Linked DNA regions of Homo sapiens: regions 1 and 3 are each linked to region 2. Evidence: promoter capture Hi-C in 16 types of primary human blood cells and fetal thymus (Javierre and others, 2016). All regions are on one chromosome and are shown on one strand. The core of a region is centred on a gene start or on the middle of the fragment in contact, and the rest is flanking DNA. Distances in the headings are between cores, read along the strand shown. Region 1 overlaps SIRT7 (sirtuin 7). Region 2 holds the start of CYBC1 (cytochrome b-245 chaperone 1). Region 3 overlaps ALYREF (Aly/REF export factor).

Evidence for each region. Contacts are between HindIII fragments. The CHiCAGO score rates a contact against its expected background, and 5 or more counts as called.
Region 1: a fragment that was not itself captured here is called in contact with the fragment with the promoter of CYBC1 in region 2 in 3 of 17 cell types (naive CD4 T cells, activated CD4 T cells and non-activated CD4 T cells); the score reaches 5.4 in naive CD4 T cells.
Region 3: a fragment that was not itself captured here is called in contact with the fragment with the promoter of CYBC1 in region 2 in 1 of 17 cell types (non-activated CD4 T cells); the score reaches 5.1 in non-activated CD4 T cells.

Annotation. Positions count from the first base shown.
Region 1 is chr17:81,912,362-81,915,061 of GRCh38, reverse strand. It overlaps SIRT7 (sirtuin 7), which reads left to right. Exons shown (of 10, transcript NM_016538.3): 6 at 360-458; 7 at 532-768; 8 at 895-975; 9 at 1,182-1,288; 10 at 2,448-2,700. The coding sequence ends at 2,646. Among named protein-coding and RNA genes, the nearest start is that of PCYT2, 2.3 kb to the right of the region's middle. The HindIII fragment of the contact is 715 bases long and covers 957-1,671 here.
Region 2 is chr17:82,449,472-82,452,253 of GRCh38, reverse strand. CYBC1 (cytochrome b-245 chaperone 1) reads left to right here and starts at 1,502. Exons shown (of 7, transcript NM_001033046.4): 1 at 1,502-1,554. RefSeq lists a silencer at 1,442-1,801 and an enhancer at 2,432-2,691. The HindIII fragment of the contact is 1,869 bases long and covers 753-2,621 here.
Region 3 is chr17:81,886,860-81,889,559 of GRCh38, reverse strand. It overlaps ALYREF (Aly/REF export factor), which reads left to right. Exons shown (of 6, transcript NM_005782.4): 3 at 231-378; 4 at 977-1,040; 5 at 1,142-1,319; 6 at 1,415-1,725. The coding sequence ends at 1,429. Among named protein-coding and RNA genes, the nearest start is that of ALYREF, 3.4 kb to the left of the region's middle. RefSeq lists a silencer at 1-152 and an enhancer at 1-1,155. The HindIII fragment of the contact is 3,701 bases long and covers 1-2,700 here.

The DNA.
Region 1 (2,700 bases), core at 65-2,564, 540 kb after region 2:
TCCCCAGGGACCTGAAATGTCATGACCCAAGAGAGCATGGATCTGGGGCAGAGTGGCCCTTGCCAAACCCCGAGCCACTTCCCAACCTTGCCGGGACGGTGCAACCTCTTGCCCTCCCAGCCACTCCAGGTGCATCAGGGCTGGAGGAAGGACAGCCCCTCCCCACCACAGGCCCTCTTGACTCCTGGTGGTTGGACCTGTTGTGTGTTTTACTTTCTAAGGCTCTCTGGGGGGACGGAGCTGCCCCTGGTTTTGGGAGCCATCGGCGGGGCTCAGAACAGCCTCGCTGTGGCCGGGTACTGACCTCCCCACCACCACTGGCAGCCATCCCTCCCCTTGCCACCCGTTCTGCCTTCCAGGTGCAGCATGTGGTGTCTCAGAACTGTGACGGGCTCCACCTGAGGAGTGGGCTGCCGCGCACGGCCATCTCCGAGCTCCACGGGAACATGTACATTGAAGTGAGCAGTCCTGCAGGGACCCAGGGTCTCCATGGGCAGGCGGGTCCCACTCACTGTGCCCTCTTGCCTCTAGGTCTGTACCTCCTGCGTTCCCAACAGGGAGTACGTGCGGGTGTTCGATGTGACGGAGCGCACTGCCCTCCACAGACACCAGACAGGCCGGACCTGCCACAAGTGTGGGACCCAGCTGCGGGACACCATTGTGCACTTTGGGGAGAGGGGGACGTTGGGGCAGCCTTTGAACTGGGAAGCGGCGACCGAGGCTGCCAGCAGAGCAGACACCATCCTGTGTCTAGGGTCCAGCCTGAAGGTACGTGCCGATGACACAATGAGTGAACCGAGCCCCTGCCCGCCCGAGGGTGTCCAGCTCTGCGGCCCAGCACTGTACAGACTTGTCCCTTGTGTGTGTGCGGTGTCTGTCTGTCTGCTTCCACAGGTTCTAAAGAAGTACCCACGCCTCTGGTGCATGACCAAGCCCCCTAGCCGGCGGCCGAAGCTTTACATCGTGAACCTGCAGGTAACTCGGGTGCTGAGAGCCACGTCCTTAGATCTGGGTCTTAGAACGCACAGCCAGAGACACCCCACACCCATGCACCAGGGCGGTCTGATAGGGCCCCCGTGGGTGCTCAGGGAGCACCGACTGAGCCCGTAGGGGCCAAGGCTGACAGGCCACCGGGAAGGGTTGGGCTGCTGTTACTCTCACTCGGCTTTCCCTGTCCTCAGTGGACCCCGAAGGATGACTGGGCTGCCCTGAAGCTACATGGGAAGTGTGATGACGTCATGCGGCTCCTCATGGCCGAGCTGGGCTTGGAGATCCCCGCCTATAGCAGGTGAGTGAGCCGCTGCAGCAGCCTGCTTCCCCGCACCTCTGTGTGCTGGGCCTTGTCTGTCTTCTCTCGTGAGCTGAGTGTGGAGGAAGCTCTGAGGTGTTTGCAGTGGTGCCTGAGGCATGACTGAAGCGTGGTGGTCTCCAGAGGGCCTGACCTCGGTGGTTGGCGGAGACCCTGCGTGTGCCACTCCTGCCCTGGCTGATGTGGCACACACAATCCCCGCGGGGAGAGGGATTCTGCCCGCGTGCTCCTGCTCCAGGCCTCCCCGTGGAGCTCTCCGAGATGCCTGGTGGGAAGCATCTGGAGGGGACGAGCACTCGGCAGCTCTGGTCAGACAGAATCTGTGTGCTTGGTTTTGGGAGTTGGCGTACTTTGGGAAAGCTTAAACAAACTGTGCCTTAATACAGAATTTGTGATAATTTAGACTTGGTGTATGTATTGAGTAAAAAGTTTACACTCTCTTTCTCTGTGAATTTTCAGGGTCTTATAGGGGAAATCAATAACTTCTTTTAATCAAAGGGTTCAAGAAATTAAGGATCCCTTCACCTTCTGGGCCTGGCACTTCTTGTATGTTATGTGTGTGGTGTTCTGTGATGTGGGCTATCGTGTACTGTATTTTTTTTTTACATTAACTTAGCTCATTTTCCTTATCAGTGCGTATCTGTATCTTAAGTTATGATCTGTGGTTCTGCATCTCCGTCAGACACATGCTTTCTTCACGGGGTCGTCTGTAGGCCACGCCTCCCTAGTCAGCTGGGAAGGGGGAGAGGGTCTGGTCCACCTGCCCCAGCGGTACAAGTGGAAGGTGGGGCCCAGAGTTGCTAGTGACTCATCCCTGGAGACGGAGGCAGCCCTGGGGCCACTGCTGCCCCACCCTGTGTGTGCACGCCGCTCAGTGGTGGACAAGGACACGGAGTTTTGAGGAGACCGAGCTAGTGTGGGTGCCGACCTTTGAGTCACCACCTAAGAGGTGACCTCTCCCACATCCGTTCTGCAGCTTGGTAACAATGAAGCTGCCGCCAACCAGAGCCCCGCCGCAGTTGACACGGGAGGGAAGGGGATGGGAAGGCAGGGACCGCAGACAGCTTTCCCGAGCTGGGGCAGGTGTGACTGCGAGAGGCTCCCAGGCCCGCCTGATGCCGCTTTCCCTTTTTGGCAGGTGGCAGGATCCCATTTTCTCACTGGCGACTCCCCTGCGTGCTGGTGAAGAAGGCAGCCACAGTCGGAAGTCGCTGTGCAGAAGCAGAGAGGAGGCCCCGCCTGGGGACCGGGGTGCACCGCTTAGCTCGGCCCCCATCCTAGGGGGCTGGTTTGGCAGGGGCTGCACAAAACGCACAAAAAGGAAGAAAGTGACGTAATCACGTGCTCGATGAAGAACAGTTGGCACTTTGCAGATGGCCAGTGTCACGGTG
Region 2 (2,782 bases), core at 253-2,752:
AATGTAGATTTTCTTCACAAGGGACAGCTTTGCAGGGCTATTTCAAAATAAGTCGAAGAAATTTAATGTGGGGTAAAGTACTTCCATTTCTTCCAAGGCTTCCTATCTGTCATGTAGTCCTATACCAGAGTCAGGCTGGAATTTGGCGTCATTGCTACAGAGTCTACTTTGTCAACTTCAAGATCTGTTTTTGTTTTGTTTTGTTATTTTTTATTGAGATGGAGTCTCACTCTGTTGCCCAGGCTGGAGAGCAGTGGCACGATCTCGGCTCACTGCAAGCTCTGCCTCCCGGGTTCACGCCATTCTCCTGCCTCAGCCTCCCGAGTAGCTGGGACTATGAGCACCCGCCACCACGCCCAGCTAATTTTTTTGTGTTTTTAGTAGAGATGAGGTTTCACTGTGTTAGCCAGGATGGTCTCAATCTCCTGACCTCGTGATCTGCCCACCTTGGCCTCCCAAAGTGCTGGGATTACAGGCGTGAGCCACCGCACCTGGCCACCTCAAGATCTGTTTTAATGTGAATGCTGGTCAGCTGTGTGCCTGAATTCCAAAAGGGAGGAGGGAGTGAGGTATGTCTGTCTCCCCCTTCCCATCACTGCCTGAGCTAGTTTTTCAGGATAACTTGGGAATGCTCTTGGCCAAGCGGAAGGGTCCATTCAGATGGTTGAGGTTTCGAATTGCTGACTGTATCCTTGTAGAATCCTTTAGTACAGTCTTGTCTTCCACATTTCCAGTAATTCACTCTAGAAGCTTGTTCACATTCAGGTTAAATTTTTTCTGGCAAGACTACTTCATAGTGTTGTGTACTTCTGATATCTAACTGACCTTTTTGCGATGTTAATTAGCAGTCATTGATGACATTGCCTAGGTCCGTTAATTCATAGGGTGATGTTTTAATCCTACTGTTTCTTCTTCATTTATTAGCGGGAAAACTTCTATAATGAGAAATTCTTCTCATGCAGTATTTGGTTACTCTGCTGTAAATTTCATAAAGGCAGGACAAATGCTTGATGCTTTCCTTTTATTAACCAGGCCACAAACTGGGGTGAGCTTACCAGCATCCTCCAAAGGTGAACAGAGTTAAAAAATACATTATTATGAATTACAGACTGGAGCATCTGAGGATTTTAAATTCACTCGAATTCCTGTTCTTATTCATGCTCAAATCTTCTTTTTTGGCAATGAGAACCGCTTCAGTTTCGCTTCTATGTTAGCAAGACGTTCATAGTCCTTGGTAAGTTCTTTGCTGTCGGATACGTTTCCCCGCACGTTTCTTTTTTTCAAGAAAACTGGCTTCTTTAGCAGGAACCACCCGCCTCCTCCTGCGGCTCCGCCCGGATCCCGGAAATCCGCTCGGCTCCGCCCCATCCAGGAAATGCTTGCGGCCCCGCCCCAATCCCGTAAGCGCGCGCGGCCCCGCCCCCAATCCCGGAAGCGCGCGCGGCCCCGCCCCCGAAAGTCGGCTCGGCTCCGCTCCAATCCCGGAAGTGCGCGCGGCCCCGCCCCCGCCGGTTCGCGTCTCTCTGCTGCGGCGCGGGGACCGCTGTGCTCTCGGTAGGCGGCTGGGCTGGGTGGGCTCCGCACTTCCTTCCCGCTCCGTGCCGCGCGTCCCGGCACCCTTAGGCCCACTCCGGGAGGGGTCTGCGTCCTGGGCCCGCCTGCCGGCTGTTCCGTGTCCCGCCGTGCCCGTCGCGGGCGGCCTCGCGCCTGTTCCGCTGCAGGTTGGCCCCGGCGGCGGGAGCGCCCCCGATCCGGACAAAGAAACGAGCGCTCGGTGCGACTAGCGGCGCGGGCGGCTTTGCCAGCGCGCGTGTGCTTGTGTCCGCGAGTGTGCGTGTGTGTGTGCATTTGGATGTGGAATGCCGGGTGTTTCGGGAGCAATGAGGCAACTGAGGCCCGGGAGGGAGCCCAGTCATATACCAGCATCTAGGATTGGTTTGTGTGATTTGAACCCACTATTTTTTATTTTTTTGAGACACGGTCTCACTCTGTCACCCAGGCTGGAGTCCAGTGGCACGATTTCTGCTCACTGCAGCCTCCACCTCCCGGCCTCAGGTGATCCTCCCAGCTCAGCCTCCTGAATAACTAGGACCACAGGCGTACACCACCACACCGGGCTGTTTTATGTATTTTCTGTGGAGACGGGGTTTCGCCACGTTGCCCTGGCTGGTCTTGAACTCCGTGACTCAAACAATCCGCACGCCTCGTCCTCCCAAAGTGCTGAGATTACAGGCCTGAGCCACCGCGCCCAGCCTGAACCCCCTACTTAATGTCAGAAATTTGATTTGACTTCACAGGGAAAGCCCTGAGAAACTACCAGAACGGGGTCCCTGGGGCCAGTGTTGGGAGCGTACGGTGAAGTGGCAGGGCTGCTGCGCCCGTGCGGAACTCCGCTGTGGAAGATTAGCCCCTTTGGTGACTCGTCGGTTCTGGCCGCTTTGGGACCCTCTACTGTGCAGTCTGAACTTTCAGCAGGTGGAGGAGGGCAGAGAGAGAGCTGAGATCGTTGGTCCATGCCAGTGCGAGAGCCAGTACGGCCGGAAGCCATGATGGGACTTTCAGTTCCTTTCTTGGTGGAGGCCAGCACAGGGGAGAGGGGGTGCCCACAGATGCTAGAAGCTTAAAGGCTGCTGGGGGCTAGCGGCCTCAGGACATAAGGTTTCCAGACAGGACGGGGCAGGTGGTGATGCAGCTGTAGCTCGTGAGTCTGAGCGGGAAACAGCCCCCGCGCAGTCGGTGTCGCTGTGAACGGAAAAGGGCCTTCCTTACACAGGAAACGGGG
Region 3 (2,700 bases), core at 1-2,500, 560 kb after region 2:
CATCGTGGTACACGTGTCAGGTCCCCACAATGGCAGGAGCCCTCAGACCCAGGTGCTCTTGGAAGTTGCTGTCCCTCCTGCCCCGCCCTTCCCTCATTTCCCGTTAACCACTGTCCTGCCTCCCAGAGAACCACCCCCAAAGCAACTCACGCTTCCAGGGCCTGTCCCTGGGCCACCAGAAGGAACGCAGTTTTGTTGCTTTTCTGACAACTGCTCTCTGCAACTCCCAGGAACTCTTTGCTGAATTTGGAACGCTGAAGAAGGCGGCTGTGCACTATGATCGCTCTGGTCGCAGCTTAGGAACAGCAGACGTGCACTTTGAGCGGAAGGCAGATGCCCTGAAGGCCATGAAGCAGTACAACGGCGTCCCTCTGGATGGTGAGTCTGGGGGTGGACCCACGCTGACTGTGGGGCTTGTGGAGTTTGGGGCTGGCACCTGTCCAGGTAGGAATATGGGGTACCCCTGTGGCTGAGGACACTTTGCATTTGCCCCTTTGTCTCTCTCTTCCATCTGCCACCTCTCATGCTGCCCCACACATCTGGACCAACCTCTTGTGAACCCCCATCCAGCAAGCTACATCCCTCCCCTCCTTCAGCTCCTTCCGGAAGATTCACTTCTGTGAAGCCTTCTCAGAACCGCCATAGTACACCTCTGAGTGCGGGGCTGTAGTCGTAAAGACAAAGGTACCGGTTCTTCTTCGTCAGGTCACCCACACCTCTCCACCCACGAGCACCCCGATACCTCAGCGAGCAGCCCACCTAGTCTGGACTGAGAAGGAGTGAGGAGGTGTTGGTGGGGTTGCTTCCTTGCCATTTTGTTCTCCCACCAGTATCTCCAGGCCATTTCCCTTGTCGGGGGCATTTGAGACGCACAGAGGCCCTTTCCAGTGTTTGCATGGAGACCAGGGTGTGGCGCCAGCTGGGTGGGTTTCAGAGCCTCTCAATAGAACGTGCCTTCTCGTATTCTTTGCCGCAGGCCGCCCCATGAACATTCAGCTTGTCACGTCACAGATTGACGCACAGCGGAGGCCTGCACAGAGGTGACTTCCGGGGCCTCTGGGGAAGGGGATTGGCCGAGGGTGAGGCTGCGTCGCTCTTAGGGTCCTTCCGGGTGTGTGAACGGTTTCGTCTTCCTTGCTAGCGTAAACAGAGGTGGCATGACTAGAAACCGTGGCGCTGGAGGTTTTGGTGGTGGTGGAGGCACCCGGAGAGGCACCCGCGGAGGCGCCCGTGGAAGAGGCAGAGGTGCCGGCAGGAATTCAAAGCAGCAGCTTTCGGCAGAGGAGCTGGATGCCCAGCTGGACGCCTATAATGCGAGAGTGAGTCCCGGGGGAGCCAGCTGGGGGCCTGGTCAAAGCCGCAGTGGGGAGCAGGCCGCCTGTGAATGCAAGCCTCTTTCTCCTCTGTGTTTCAGATGGACACCAGTTAAACAGACCAGCAAATCCGCGTGCGGAACAGGACCCAGGCGTCTCCTCTTGCTCCCTGGTTGGGGGGCGGTGGCTGGGGCTGTGCGGCCAATGATGGATTTGTTTCTTTTATGTTTTAAAATAGGATTTAAAAACTCATGTAAAGGTTTTTTTTTTTTCTTTTTTTTTTTTTTTAATTCTGAAACAGACCTGTTTTGTACCGAGTTATTTTTGGGATAAATTTTACTGGTTGCTGTTGTGGAGAAGGTGGCGTTTCCACCTTTTCCATAATAAAATAGAAATGTGTGTAGAACTGGAACTGTTTGATTCGTCCCACTGTTGGAGTCCAGGCCTGGGCCAGGATTTTGGTGTCTGTCCAGCTGGGAGGGGGTGGGAGAACCTGAGTTGGGGATGGAGGGAGCAGCCCCATCTGGTGTTGGACACCTGAAGTTGGCATGGGTTGTGGGGGTGGCGGGGGGTCCCCGCTCCTGGAGGGCCGAAGCTGCCTGTCTTCTTTCTTATCTTCTTTCCTGCCTCACACCTAACACCTTCCTCTCTAACTCACCAGGTGGGAGGACACCTTTGCCCGGGAGCCACCTGTTGACCCTTGTGCCTGTGCCTCCAGGTGAGGGGAGGTTGGGGTGGGATGGCTGCCCTGTGTGCCGTCCACAGGCTTCCCACAGCCAGAACATCTCTGGGCTGTTCCTTTCCTTCTTGTACTCTGGTTTTCAGAGAAACGTGGATTCAGCAGTTTTGACTTTGTAGTGTAATTCCTTTTTCTGTTTGTTTTTTTGTTGTTGTTTTTAACCTTGCCACGGAGCAAGGCATGAGGATCCTCTCTTAGTTGTATATTTGATGAAGTGGCTGGTGGAAGCTGTGATAATCCGTCCATTTAAGAGTGGGGCGGCTGGGCGCGGTGGCTCACGCCTGTAATCCCAGCACTTTGGGAGGCTGGGGCAGGCAGATCACCTGAGGTCAGGAGTTCAAGACCAGCCTGGCCAACATGGCGAAACCCCGTCTCTACTAAAAATACAAAATTAGCTGGGTGTGGTGGTGCATGCCTGTAATCCCAGCTACTTGGGAGGCTGAGGCTGGAGAATCGCCTGAACCAGGGAGGTGGAGGTTGCAGTGAGCCGAGATTGTGCCATTGCACTCCAGTCTGGACAACAAGAGTGAACTCCGTCTCAAAAAGGAGTAGGGCAACGCCTGATACCTGTAATCCCAGCACTTTGGGAGGTCAGGGCAGAAGGATCTCTTGAGCCCAGAAGTTCGAGACCAGCCTAGGCAACATGGC